Regions from separate parts of the Homo sapiens genome. Here region 2 is linked to region 1. Evidence: promoter capture Hi-C in 16 types of primary human blood cells and fetal thymus (Javierre and others, 2016). All regions are on one chromosome and are shown on one strand. The core of a region is centred on a gene start or on the middle of the fragment in contact, and the rest is flanking DNA. Distances in the headings are between cores, read along the strand shown.

Region 1 (7,352 bases), core at 1,333-3,832:
TTTCCCAAGAACCATTAGAAAGAGAGCAAAAGGAAGAAGAGAGATAGAGAAAGTATGAGAAGTTGGAAGTTTTTCTCAATGCTTTTACGTAAGGCTGTGGATGTAGGGTGGGAATCTGAAAAACCACAGAGCAATTTTTAGGGTTGAGGTAGACTTGCCACAGAACTATTCGATATACTTATAATTCTAGATTTCTCCCTCACCATAGTCATTCTGCCTGAATTTCCACTGTTAGACTGAGACTTCTGCTGCCCCCATCATCTCCCTACTAAAATGCTAATCTAAATGCTAACCCTAAAATCTAATAAAAATATATGGACAGGAATAAAAATAGAATAAAACTATATACAGATATAGAATAAAGGATATATTTTAAAGGTGGCCAGGCATGGTGGCTCACGCCTGTAATCCCAACACTTTGAGAGGCCGAGGAAGGAGGATCACTTGGGGCCAGGAGTTAAAGACCAGCCTGGTCAACAAAGTGAGACCCCATCTCTATTTTTAAAATTTTTAAACTTTAAAAATTTAAAATTTAAAATTACCTGGGCATCGTGGCATGCACTTGTAATCCCAGCTACTCTGGAGGCTGAGGTGGGAGGATCCCTTGAGCCCAGGAGGCCAAGGCTGCAGTGAGCCATGATTGTGCCACTGCACTCCAGTCTGGGTGACAGAGCAAGACCTTGTCTCAAAAAAAAAAAAAAAAAAAAAAAACCAACCCAAAAACCTGATCTATCTGGTCTGCCAGCATATGTCAAGGCCCCTTAAATCTACCAGGCCCCATTTGACTTCCAATATTTCCTGACCAATGAACAAACGAATGGATGTAAGTAGAATGAGGATATTCTACATTTCATATTTTAACATATTGTCTGGCTTATACTCTCATATGCCATACTAAAGCATGCTGATTATCAATAAAATGATGGACATTTATACATTCTTGTCCTCATTTGTTTCTCAAGCAGAAAACACAAAGACTAGTCAGTCCTACTGAAAGTCATCCAGGGAATTAATGCCTTGTTAGGGGCCCTCCTGCCCTTCTGTGATGACCACTGGGTGAGAAGCCCCTCCTGGATGTTATGTCACTCTGTTCAGTTGTCTCAGCCTCCTGGCAGTATCACAGGTGAGGAAACCGATAGAGAAGGCTTTGCCAAGCCTCAGTAAGGTGTGACTTTCAGTCACTTCCCCTTGGCCCAAACAGGAAGTCCCATTGTTCCAGAGATCTTGATATGGCAGAAGTGGGCATGGGGTTTGGCCTTTGGTGGCAAGAAAGTCTCGCTTATTATAAGACTATCCAGTGTTCCTTAATACTAGACTATCATTCAAAGTCTCAGACTTCTGAGAGACCCAATCATAATGGAGCCCTCCTGTTGGAACAGCTCAGGAGCTTTCTGATTGGCTGTTGGTGACATCATTCAAGGGGCACTATTTGCTGCCTCTGAATGGAAGCATTGTGATGAGGGTGATGATCCAGCAGTCCCAGTGTGTCAGGTCCTGGGCTGGGATCCATGTCGTCCTTACAACAGTTCAGCAAGAAACATGTTATTCGATCCATTCACTGAGGAGGAAACTGAAATCACTCGGAGAGGAGGAGTGATTCAGCCCCAAATTCCAAAGTGGTAGAAATGGACTTGGGCTTCCCTAATGTCTTAGCTAGTCCCCCATCTACCTGTCCATTCCTGGGACAGGTGAGGTAAGACAGTAGGGACCAGACAGTAACTGATGGTGCAGAGGAGTCCTTGACTTAACAGGCCACTTGATGCCAAAGAATAGCTACTACAAACACCAGCTCCTAGCAAACAGCCCACACTGACCAGCCAATTGCCTGAGGCCAGATAGGTTTGCACACAACCTTCAATCTGTTAAGAAAGGGCCTTGGGTCCAGCCACCCTTGAGTGTGGGAATCAGTGAGTCTAGCACAGGGCTTACCCGGAATTTCATCAGCCCTCAGAACCAAGCTTTGTGACCCATAGGGTAATCATGCCACAAACAATCCAACCAAAATGAAACCATCCCAGGCCACTCTGAACTTAGAAGCCAAAGCGGGAAACAGAGAACTCTACCAATGTGGAGGCATCACTCTATCCTGGGCCCAGCAAACTCAGGAGGCAGCTGCATCTACATTTCGATTAAGCATCGAGAGATGCAAGGAAGTATTACTGACTTCTAAATTTTCCCTTCACCATAGTCATTCTGCCTGAACTTCCACAGTTAGACTGAGACATAAAATGCTAATCTACCTGGAAAGGTAATGCCTGCTATCTGCAATTGGCATCAAAACATAAATTAGCTTCTGCCTAGAGATGGTAACAGAGCAGAGGGCATCACAAGAAAGCTAAGTTTTGAGAGGAGGGCATGCAAATATGAAGAAATAGGAACTTTGCTTGGGGGGTATCCTGGGGAGATTCATAAGTGCCTGGAATGAGGGATTCTGTCCAAAGGGAAAAGGAAAGACCAGACAGATGGAATTTTCTGGCTGCACAAACTCCAGAGGCTGGCCCCTTACTCATCAGAGAGTTGAAACCCTCAGTTAGGCCTCTCAGAACAGGAGTAGAACCCATAGTTGGGGGCCAAGAGGGTCACAGCTGGGAGAAACTTGGGGAATGATGGAGTCCCAACCTCTTGTTTCACAGACAGGGGTATATGTCAGAGCCATTCTTCCAGATCAGATGACCTGTTAAACTGAGACTTCTGCACCATCTGAACCATCAGTCACTCTCTGGCCCAGAGAGGTGGTGTTATTTGCCAAGGACACACAGCAGGTGGCCAAGATGGAGCCAAGCCATTTTCCCCACTGCAGGGGTAAGGTTCAGCCAGAGCACCCACAGGGAGGTGGAAAGGGGAACAGAGTGAGATATCAATAAACAAAAAATAAATCTTTCTTATTTTGGGGATGCAGAGCACGCTAACAATCCCCCAAAGACCTTTGTCAGATGAAGAAGCCAGCTCAGGAAAGCTGTAGGATAAATAAGATAAATAATATTTAATGCAGATCAAGTTCAAAATCTATGCCACCTCCATGGAAATATAATTCTCCTTCCTACTTCTTGGAAAGGAGGCAGTTTCCACAAATTCACATCTTGGCTCACACAGGAACATTTTTCTGTATTTTATCATGGGCCTTCTAAAAGAGGCTGCTTCCCACCTATTTGCCTAGTATGACATCTCCATTAGGACTTGGCTGGCTCAAAACAGGACCCCTGTATACCTTTCCCCTCACCGAGTGAGCTGGAGAACTTTAGACACAGCCAAGGCGTCCAAGCATCACAGGTTCTGAGGTTTTGCATGAAGAAGCCTATGAGTGTGCGAATCTGGGTACAAATCCAGGCTCCACCATCGCCTCACTGTAACAGCAACCCAAAGGGAATGCAAATATGGGAACCACACCGTGCAGATTCAAGATTAGCATCTTGCTGGTGCACAAGGCCCAGTCTCTGCCAGAATGGCTCACGTGATCTGAGAGTCCAAGTCCTAAATGAGAAGGCCATATTTTGGCCTCCTCCTTATTCTCTAGCCCAATTTTCACCAACAGGAAGAGGAACCAGGATCAGTCCACTTAGATGTACTGACTGCATCATTTAGTCCTCAGCACAAGGGGGCGATCTTATCACCAACCTACGGATAAGGAATCTGGCTGGGAAGGACTGAATGACCTGCTCAAGGTCACACATCTAGAAAGAGGCACCTTTAGGACTTGAATGAGATGACTTTTATATCAATGCCTGGGCTCCTAATCGCCATGCTGTCTTGACCGTCTGCAACAAACCCTTCACTCGACAAATGGGGATGTTAAGGCCCAGAAAGGCAAAGAAAGTTCCCCAAGGTCACAAGATCAATTGGCCACATAGTTGAGGCTGGCTAAGAGAAAAGAATAATTTCTTGCTGGATTCTTGGGAGAACCATACAGGAATAAGGTGTGACGGGACAGGGAGGAAGATTAGAGCAAAACAAGGGAGTTGAAGTGAGGGAGTTAGGAGAACCTGGATACCCCAGAAAACGCCAGCTCCAATGTAGCCCACCCTGGCAGCCCAGGTGATGGTGAGAGATGCAACTCACTTCTTCTGCTTCTTCTCCAGCTCATGGTTTCGACTTTGTTGGTTCTCTAGCAGGACGCAGGTATCCTCAAGGTCACAGGTAAGATGGTGGCACTTCCTCTTCAGTTGGTGAGCCATCTTCTTGGCCCCGTCATAAGCACTTTGCAACTCCCCAAGCTGTAAGAGTAATAGAATGAATTACCCGGCTCTGTGGGCATGGAACGAGCTTTTTACTTTGTATTTCAAGGAGTTGCTATTTCCAAGGTGTGTAATGAGAAAACAGCAGATGCTGGAATGGGGAGACCCTGTCTTGACTACCTTCCTCCAGGGTCACCTCCAGGAAGCTACTTTTCTGAGCCTCAGTTTGCTCAGAGGTAAAGTGGGGATAATTCCATCAATCTCTTAAGGTTGATTTTACTTTTGCTCAATAAACCTCCAGCCAATGCACCCACAGACTTTACCTACCCTGCCTCAACTTGATGACCCCTGAGCCACCGGATAACTCATATCCCCACCAGCCGACATGATCAGAAGGGATATGTGAGGATTAGCCACAGAGCAGCCAAAATGACATACCTAGAAAATCTGACCCGGAATCCCAAGTGACAAGCCTTAAAGGTTAAAGCAGCAAATGGCACTTTGCATGGACTGAATTAATACCAGAATGCACACGGCCTTAAACAAACAAAAGTCAAGACTCTTGCATCTTCCTCCAGGAAACACTCTCCCAAATGTCCTAGTTTAGATCTGGGAAAGAGCACGCAACTCAGCACACTGGCTTTGAAGAAATGGCCTCATTAAAAAATTGCTTTAAATAAGCAAAACTCTGAGTTAATGAAGCCTGTAATTCTAAATTCAGTATTTGAAGGCAAATGGGATGTTCTCTTATATTCTGCTGCTCAGAAAAGGTTGCTGTTTTATTACTTTTTAATGTAGCATAAATATCCCCCTTCATCAGGGAAACTGACTCAACTTTATAATTTGTTATTAAAGAACTGGGCTGCTTTCCTGCAGTTGTCCATCTGTGTTTATCTATGGTTCAAGATGTCTCTTGAGGACCACGATGCAATGTTCACCTTGAAAGCGACCACTAAAATCATCACCATCAGCATAGAGGATATCAAGAGTCACTTCCATTGTTTATAAAATCCCATGTGATCTCACCCAGGCCCACCTCTGCAAGGCAATCACATGATACTTTTTGCTCACGTTGAGAATAGAATAGATACACAAATATAACCTCCACCCTATGGCTCCGATATCGAATGGGAGAGACTATGAAGTGAGTAGGTAATTACAATACAACATGATGAGGCCTATGTTTTGGAAGACAACTCAGGGACTCCCAACCCAATCTGCGTCAGCAAAGACTTTCTGGAGAGAGTGACATTTAAGCTAAGATCTTAAGAATAGTTGGAGATATCTAGGCAGGAGAGAAAAAGAAAGATTGCTCGGGGAAGAAGAAATAGCACATGCAAAGTCCCAGAGGTGAGAAAGAATCAGGCATTTTTGGAAGGAGAAGAAAAAAAACTGAGTGTGGCTGGAATCAGTGGTGTGCCAGAGTCAGCTGGTACCGACTTGAAAGAGATGCACAGAGCTAATTCTGTGCATCCCTTTCAAATTCCATGTTAGTGACATCACAATGGTAGTTTGAAATTGGCCATGGTGGGAGTATTTACACCAGGGAAATTGGCAAGTGCTACAAATCAGGGCTTTTTGTTTTTTTCCAGGGAGCCATTTACTAGCACACCATTTGTTAGAGTGTGAACTGGTTAGAATGTAGACGAGGGATAGTTGGAGGCCACAGAAGACAAGCAGAGAGACCAAACTATCTGTACATTCATCTAGAAAGGCTAGATAAAAATATATTATATATAGATAAGATTGCATTAGATTTGTAATGTTACCTTCAAGAAAGAAGGAAATTTCAGGATATCAGAAATGCAGAGGACACAAAGCCCTAACAGTAATGGTACATACTAATATTATGGCGGCCAGGATGAGGGGGAAGAGCAGTTGATAGATCCAGAAGTGTCCTTTAGGATAGAGGTTTGTGTTTCAATGCCCAGACAGAGACAGGAGACAAGGCTCTGGGCTCATGGAAGGTGAAGAGTTGGAATGAAGACCGTTGCATTGACAAACCCCTCAAAGAACTGCATGCACCTCAGTGAGAAGAGAAAATAAAAGCTCCACCTGCTGGCCTGGAAGGTGGTAAGAAAGCTTGCTTTCACCCTGGATCTAGGTGGGGCAAGAAGTACTCTCGTAAGAATTTTAAACCCCAGGTCTAAGCCTCATGTGGGTTTAGAGATCCAATTGACAATTTTTACATGCCGCAAAACATCTGAGACCAAGAATTTAGCATTATCTCAAGGACTGCTGCCAAAGAAAGTGAAAAAGGGTTTCTTCTAGCAGAACACACCCACGACCCTGTTATCAAAGGGCTCCCATCAAAGTCAACAGAATGTTAAAAAAATTAAATCTCCTGCTGAAGGTGAACTCACAATAAAAAATAGCTAAATACACACACAAAAATTCACTGGGAGCGGAAAAAAAAAAAAACATTCCACAATGCAGAACACCTGTGACTACTGGGGGAGGAGCACAGAAACCTGTTGAAGATGAGCTCAAAAACGAAATTTACAAAACACACAAGGAAAAAAATCCAACATGAGAGTCAGCATACTTTATGATCACAGAACAATCTGAAAGAGACCCTGAAACATTCCTTGGCTGCAGTGTGGCAGGTGGTTGAGAGGAGAGGCCAGAGGCAAGGAGCACAGCTAGGAGGCTATTGCTTTGGTCTGGATGAGAGATGAAGGTAGCAGATTAGAACAGAGGCAACAGGGAAATGTGAAGGTTTTGAGACCGCTGATAATTATGTAATAGATAAGAAACATGAGTTAAAGTGACTTCCACAAGGTTCACGTAGAAATGGAACTGGAACTCAGATATCCTGAGTTAATATCCATGTTCTTTACACCACAGAGCAGTCTCTGGATAGAAGATCCACATGTACAGACAATATTTTTCATGTCTCACAGTGACCAGCATTTGTAATAATAGTGGAGATGGAAAAACCTTAAGGGGTTTGTGTCCTCTTCCTCCCTCTTCAGGCTCAGCTAATACCTCGATCACCCACAGTGGAGGTGAGAGCCTGCCCACTCTCTAACACTTCTGTGGCCCAGACTATCCCCACATCTTACCTTTTGCTCCAGCTCTTTCCTGGCTGTCAGCTCCGAGTCCAGCCTCTCCTCGCATTGCTGCAGACGCTTTCTGAGGAACTCGTTCTCCATCTGAGCACAGTCGAAGCGCATCTGC
Region 2 (7,352 bases), core at 1,774-4,273, 410 kb before region 1:
TTGGTTGATAGTAGACACTCAAACAGTTCGGTTGGAATGAATGAATAAGCATCTTATTCCAGACTCTAGAAGTCAGAGAGAAAGGAATGGGGGGAAGAGGATGAGGTCTATTTAATTCAATTTGAATTTTTATTTTTTTTTGAGACAGAGTCTTACTCTGTTGCCCAGGCTGAAGTAGTGGTGCAATCATGGCTCACTGCAGCCTGGAACTCCAGGGCTCAAGTAATTGTCCCACCTGAGCCTCCCAAGTAGCTGGGACTACAGGTGCCACCATGCCTGGCTAGTTTTTTTAATTGTTTGTAAAGATGGGGTCTCACTATGTTGCCTAGGCTGGTCTCGAACTCCTGGCCCCAAGTGATTCTCCTACCTCAGCCTCCCAAAGTGTTGAGATTACAGGTGTGAGCTACCGTGCCCAGATGAGGATGAGCTTTATTGAGGAGTGAGGCAATGGGCTAGGAACGCGTAAAATCTGCCTCCAGCAGCCACAAAGCACTGATGTTCCAAGACCCCCATTACAGGAGAGAAAAATTGAGGTCCAGAGAGAGGCGAGAACAGGTGAGCCCAGCCCAAAGTCACATGGGAAGGAGGTGGAATTCTTTCTTAGATTGGCCTGGCCCCAAGTCCACAAGGGGCAGCTATTCAAGCTGTGTAAGTCTCTGACTCCACTGGAGAAGGAGGTTCTGGGACAGCCTCTGGGGACACTTCTTTTTTTTTTGAGACAAGGTCTTACTCTGTCACCCAGGCTGGAGTGCAGTGGCATGATCATGGCTCACTGCAGCCTCAATTTCCCAGGCTCAAGAGATCCTCCCATCTCAGCCTCCCAAGTAGCTGGTACCACAGGCGTGTGCCACCACATCCAGCTAATTTTTATTTTTTTGAAGAGACAGGATGCCTCTATGTTGTTGGGACTGGTCTCAAACTCCTGGTCTCAAGCAATCCTCCTGCCTCAACCTCCCGAAGTGTTGGGGTTGTAGGCATGAGCCACCGCACCCAGACTAAGGACACTTGCTGTGTCTAAGGAACAGCCTCAAAAGCCGGTCACTAATAATTTGAAAATAATTTCTCTTTCTCTTGCAAGGTTCCTCTGTAGAGCCAGAGAACTGTGAGTGCTGCTTCCCCAGGCTGCTGGGTTTCAGCACTCTCTCCGCCCCCAACCACCCTCCCGTCTGCCACCTGGGTCTGTCAGGAACCCTGTATTCTGCTTTCTCCAGGCACCACCGTCTGTCTTTGTCCACTTCTCACCCCCATCTCACATGGGGCAGTGGAAAGAGCATGACTGAGAAGCCACAGAAGCCTGAATTTCAGCCCCGCTGCTCGCTGGCTTTCTGGGTGGCCTCCCTGCACCTCTGCTGCCTTCTCAGACAGTGGGGTTAATGACCTCCCAGGGGGGGTTCTCTGTGAGAATTACCTAAGATAGAAATGCTTAGAGCAGTCACTTTTGCATCTGGCCCAGAGTAGCTGCTTCCCTGCAAGTGTCACCCTCTTGGGGAGCTAGCGGGGAACATTCTGGATGGAGAATCTAATGGTTACCCCCTGTGAATACAGGAAACCCAGCCGCACAGCTAAGTAAGTCCGTTCATTAAAAACATTTTTTTTCATTCAGCAATCATTTCCTGAGCATCTACTGTGTATCAGACTCTGCGTTAGACTGTGGAAACAGAGGGTAGTCAGACCCAGCCCCAGAGGAGAGGACCTTCTGGTCTAGTTGAGGGAGACAAACAGGAAAATAAACAACTGTAGTCCAGTAAATGGGTGTTACAGTGCCCCCTTCTTGCTGGCCACACTGGCCATTTGGTCCTTTGAAAATGAGATGCTTGCCACAGGGCCTTTGCACATTCTGTTCATTTGGGATGCATCACTCCAACTCATCTTTTAGTTCTGAGCTTTAGTATCAGATCCTCGGGGAAGACTTCTCTGACCTTCCTTTTTATATCAAATTCCAGTTAAAGAATCTCATAGCACCATTAACCTCTCCTTACATCACATATTGAAGTTAGAGTATGCAATTATTTGTGTATGTCCTCATTTCATATTTGTTTCCTAGGCTGAATTTCCCAAAGATAGGGACTCTCTCTCTCTCTCCTCTCTCTCTCTCTCTGTGTGTGTGTGTGTGTGTGTGTGTATTTGTGATGCTGTTCTTGGTCTCACTATGGGAATGCCTGTTCTCTGCATAGTCCCGGCACATAGTAGATGCTTAGTTAATATTGGTTGAAAGAATAAAGCAGGAGCAATTTCTTTCTCAATCTCCCAAATTTTGCCAAATTAGAGGGCCACCCATTTTAAACACTCACAACTGGATATCTAAGAAGATCCGTTTCTCTTCTCCCACGTGGATCTTCCAGATACAATCTTCACCTTCCACGTAGGGCTCGGGCCAGTTTGGGGACAATACCACCCCAGCCACAGCAGAGAGCTCCCCACCACACATGGCTGTAAAAGACAGACAGGCAAGAAGACGGACTTTATTTGTAAAGAAGTCAATGTGGCATAGCGGCTAACCATGTGGGCTATGAAGTCAGACAGCCGTGAATCTCTGTGTACTGTGGACAGGTGTCTTCACCTCGGGCAGCCAGCACGTGTGTGTGTGTGCGTGTGTGTGTGTGTGTGTGTGTGTGTGTGTGTAATGATTAAATGAGAGCTGGCCAGCTGCCTACCTTGCACCTGAGGGTTGGTAAAAGTTGGGCTAAGAGGTGCTATTGCTCTTTCAAGACCAAGGACAGAGCTCAGTGGTCAGAATGACTCCTCAACAGCCTCTGCTCTTTTGCGGGGTGAGTAGTGGCTAAGAGACCGCCCACTCAAGTTAGGTGGTCCCGGGGTCCCAATCTTGCCTCTGCTGCTAACAGGCTGTAGGAGGAGGTATGTAATTTCCCAGAGCCTCAGCTCCCTTTCTCTACAAAATGGGGGCAATACCACTGCCAACCTCATTGGGTTATTTTGAGGCTTAAGCTCATGAATGTCAAACATGCTGCACAGTGTCTGGCACATGGTAGCTGCTCGATAATTTAGATAATGTTGCTATGACAGGTCCCGGCCCTGAACTGGAAGCAGAGATGTGGCTGCGGCAGGTGCCCTTTAAATTCTACTCTGTGTTTACCACTTTGGAAAGGTCTCAACATGGCAGAGGCCAAAGCACCAATAAATTCCGCTCTGTTAAATCGGCACATTTAATATAGGGATCAATCCCTCACCATGGCAAGGCTGTGATTTCACACCAACTGCCATTGAGGCGGTGGCTGCCAGGAGTGAGGGCACCTTTCATTACTCCACATGCCAGCAGGAGACCCAGGCTCAGGGTGGCTCAGCAGCCTTGAATATGGGGAAACGGGCCAGGTGCGATGGCTCATGCCTGTAATGCCAGCACTTTGGGAGGCCAAGGTGGGTGGATCACTTGAGGTCAGGAGTTCGAGACCAGCCTGGCTGATATGGTGAAACCCCGTTTCTACTAAAAATACAAAATTAGCCGGCTGTGGTGGCACACGCCTGTAGTCCCAGCTACTCAGGAGGCTGAGACAGGAGAATCGCTTGAACCCGGGAAGCGGAGGCTGCAGTGAGCCGAGCGAGTCTCTGTCTCAACAACAAAAAGAATATGGGGAAACTGGCAGGACAGTCCACTGCAGCCTGTGTAGATGAGGGTTCTACAACACTGTCCAGTGGGGCTCAGAGCACAGTGCTCTGAGAACAAAGAGACATGAGTTCCATTCCTGTCCCTGCCAATTCCCCTTGTGTGTTCTTAGGCAGGTCACTTCACAGCATTAGTTTCTCACCTACAAATGGGGCCGATACAATCTACTTTATAAGGCTATGGTGAGGTTGAAATCAGATAATGCACACACACTCTTAGCAAAGTGCTGGTAGCATAATTATTACACACCAATTAAGAACTATTATTGTTCTTATTAATGAGGTTATTGCGTGGGTTGTGCACTGCACAAGCATGCGTAGCAGAGGGAGTATTTAGGAGCTGAAATCCATGCAGTATTCAGCTCACTAAGCTGTGCACTGTGGGACCTATGCCTGGAAGAAGGTGCACCTTCTAAAATTCACCCATTTTGTAATTTTCTCAAGACCAGCAGCAACCCTGAACCAAAGGACAGTGAACCCTGGAAAGGGTTCTAATCCTAAAGTTGGTATGAAAACTGGGGACAGGCCTCTAAGCTGGGGCCTTGGTCTTCTCATCCAAAGGGTGGAGATCCCTGGGGTGCCGTGGGAAGAGCGTTGTGGATCCGCTCACCTCTGCACAGGGGCTCTGTGTCATTCCAGTATGGGTCCCGCACATTGATGCATTCGATGATGGCCGGGCCCTGCTCCAGGGAGTGGCCGGGGTCGCAGGTGAACTCCACTATAGTCCCAATGTTATAGGTCGGGTCGGATGTAGTGAAGTTCCCATTCTGGATGTAGGGCTCATAGCAGTGGCCTTTCTCAAACGCTGAGGAAGGGAAAGAGAGGCAGCAGTTCAGATGATGCAGGGACTACCCCACGGTGCTATATTTCAGAAGATGGGTCCCCTGTGCTGTTTAGAAAAGCCCCAAAGAAAACAGGTACCAAATTACGTGTCCTGGTTCCAGCTGACGTGTTGAGAACCCTGGGGCCACCCAGTTGACTCCTTGGGACCTCATTTAAAAAAATCTAAAATAGGAGTAAGAATCTCTGTCTTCTCCACCCTGTGGAGTTGTTGTGTTTTAATGCCTTTCCACATCCTATATGGATCCTTCCCATGGCCCGTAACTTCAGAGCCCTGACTTTTTGCCACTGGAAACTGTAGGGCTGTCTATGATAAAAGCCAGCTTTTCTTGGCAAAGCCAGAACAGAAAGTCCCCCAGCGTACATGAAATGCCCAGCGAACCCCTTCTTCAAGAGTCAGGGTCTCAGCAGGAGAGGCTCTTGCTAAATTCTTCTTGGAGGAAGAAGTGGCTAAATTCTAAGAGGTCTACTAGGTGGAGTGGAGCAGAGCTTCAGGGCTCCCCAGCACAGGATGGACAGAAATCTTAACTCCACCCTTGTTCACTGGTGGTCTTGGGCCGGTCACCCAAGTGTCTTAAACCTCAGTTTCCTCACCAAAAATCAGATAGAATAACAGTTCTAATGTTTCAGTGTGATGAGGATCAAACATGATGCAGAAGCTGAAATCCAATCAGACAGTGCACAGAAGGCACTGAGCACGTAGTAAGTGCACAGTTAATGATAGGCATTGTTATTATTAATGAAACCAAGAGCCTGTCTTTGGAAACCAAAGGATCCACATGGCCATGGGATTTCCCACATCCTTCGCAGCCCAGATTTCTATCTCCCCATGCTTTCCCTGCTCCCAGGCTACCCCCAGCCCCACAAGAGAAAGGGAAGCTCCCAGGGACCCTCACCTTCAAATCGGATGTTGAAGGTGGAGGCCGCCCGGGCCTGGTCGGACGTGAACTCGATGCGGATGGTGTTGCCTTCGCTCAGCAGGCCCTCAAAAGGGACACTCTCGGTTTGAAGGGAGTCGTAGAGAAGAGCTGACTTGTTGGTCTGCCCGCTGTGAACCGTCATCCTGGCAGTGGGAGCAGAGAGGAGGGACACTGACAGATCTTCCTGGGTCACTGACATGGCAGAGGAAGGGATGTGCTACGACTGCCTCTGGAGCCTCATTACCGGATCCCAAACCTAACTCTGCCTCTTTTTTTTTGACAGAGTTTCACTCTTGTTGCCCAGCCTGGAGTTCAATGGTGCGATCTTGGCTCACTGCAACCTCCGCCTCCCAGGTTCAAGTGATTCTCCTGCCTCAGCCTCCCGAGTAGCTGAGATTACAGGTGTGTCCCACCATGCCCAGCACATTTTTGTACTTTTAGTAGAGATGGGGTTTCACCATGTTGGCCAGGCTGGTCTCGAACTCCTGACCTCAGGTGATCCACCCGCCTTGGCCTCCCAAAGTGCTGGGATTACAGGCGTGAGCCACCACGCCCAGTCCTGACTTTACCTCTTATGTGCTCAGACAAGCATCACCTTATCGAACCTGTTTCCTCTTCTGTACAATGGGACTAAATGCCTGTCCTGGCTTCCTTATGGATTTATTCTGAGGTTGTAGGGAGAGTAATGTATATGATGTAATAAACCAAACGACGAACTAATGAATTGATGTTGACTATTATTATTAACTGAGAAGTTGGAAATAATGGACTAATCTCATTGCCTAAATGGTGGCTTTTGTAAAGTCAGGCAGACCTGGGTGTGAGTCCTGACTCTGTCACTTCTCAGCTGTGTGACTTTGCACAAGAACACTTCACTTCTCTGAGCCTCTGTTTTCTCATCTGTAAAATGGGTACAATTGCACCTATATCAGAGTGTGGGGCATGGTGGCTCAAGTCTATAATCTCAGCAGTTTGGGAGGCCAAGGTGGGTGGATCACCTGAGGTCAGGAGTTAGATAGTAGCCTGGCCAACATGGTGAAACCCCGTCTCTACTAAAAATACAAAAATCAGACAGATATGGTGGCGCGTGCCTATAGTCCCTGCTACTCTGGAGGCTGAGGCAGGAGAATTGCTTGAACCTGGAAGCCAGAGATTGCAGTGAGCCGAGATCGAGCCACTGCACTCCAGCTTGGGTGACAGAGCAAGACTCGGTCTTAAAAAAAAAATAGTTAACAGGACACGGTAGGTAAGTTTTGTTTATTAAGCATTTGACTCCCACCAGGCTCTGTCTCTGATCCCCATTTTCTAAGAGCACTGTGTGGGAAGTCAAGAGTCATAATTCCCATTTCTCAATTCCCCATCTGGATTTACATTAAGTCTTAAAACACCTTTCAGCCTCAGTGTCCTCAACTGTGAAAGGAGAGACCCAACCATAACGTCGTTCTGACCCATCTTACAGGTGGGCTTTGAGAATATTGCAAAATAAAAAGTGCCCTGAAAAATAAAATGTGTTAAACAAAATGTTGGGTATTTATTTTTATTGTTATTAAAGCTATTTGAAGTTGACTTCTTGCTAGCCTTGGTTTTTTAAAGAAATTATGCAAAAATGGTGAAGAAAACCATATACAAATTAGATAAGCTTCTTTTATGGAGTCATAAACACACATTTTTAAGCCTTTGAGGTTTTTACTGACTCATAAAAATAGTTTATTTTATGCTGCCCAGATGAATTTCTAATGTCACTAAGATGTATAAATGTTGCAGCCACAGTTTGTTTATTTTGCCATGTGTCCAGTATGGCTGAGGCAAGGATGGGGGCTGTGGTAGAGTCCAGGGGGCATTCCAGGAGTGGGAAGGGGCATCTACATAGTCTTCTGATTCCTGATGACTCTGTTATATCTTAGGGGCTGTGTGTTGGGACACCTCTTTCAAAGAACAGAAGCCTTTGGCAAAGAGGGTTGCTCTGGAGGA

The links. The method cuts DNA at HindIII sites, captures the fragments that hold promoters and counts their contacts. A CHiCAGO score of 5 or more calls a contact.
Region 2: a fragment that was not itself captured here is called in contact with the fragment with the promoter of MYO18B-AS1 in region 1 in 1 of 17 cell types (M0 macrophages); the score reaches 5.1 in M0 macrophages.

Annotation. Positions count from the first base shown.
Region 1 is chr22:25,895,166-25,902,517 of GRCh38, reverse strand. It overlaps MYO18B-AS1 (MYO18B antisense RNA 1), which reads left to right and starts at 2,582. Exons shown (of 3, transcript XR_938086.3): 1 at 2,582-2,802. MYO18B (myosin XVIIIB) reads right to left here. Exons shown (of 44, transcript NM_032608.7): 28 at 7,238-7,352; 29 at 4,057-4,211. The HindIII fragment of the contact is 4,296 bases long and covers 1,961-6,256 here.
Region 2 is chr22:26,308,842-26,316,193 of GRCh38, reverse strand. SEZ6L (seizure related 6 homolog like) reads right to left here. Exons shown (of 17, transcript NM_021115.5): 7 at 5,358-5,524; 8 at 4,232-4,426; 9 at 2,292-2,430. Among named protein-coding and RNA genes, the nearest start is that of SEZ6L-AS1, 66 kb to the right of the region's middle. The HindIII fragment of the contact is 7,999 bases long and covers 1-7,022 here.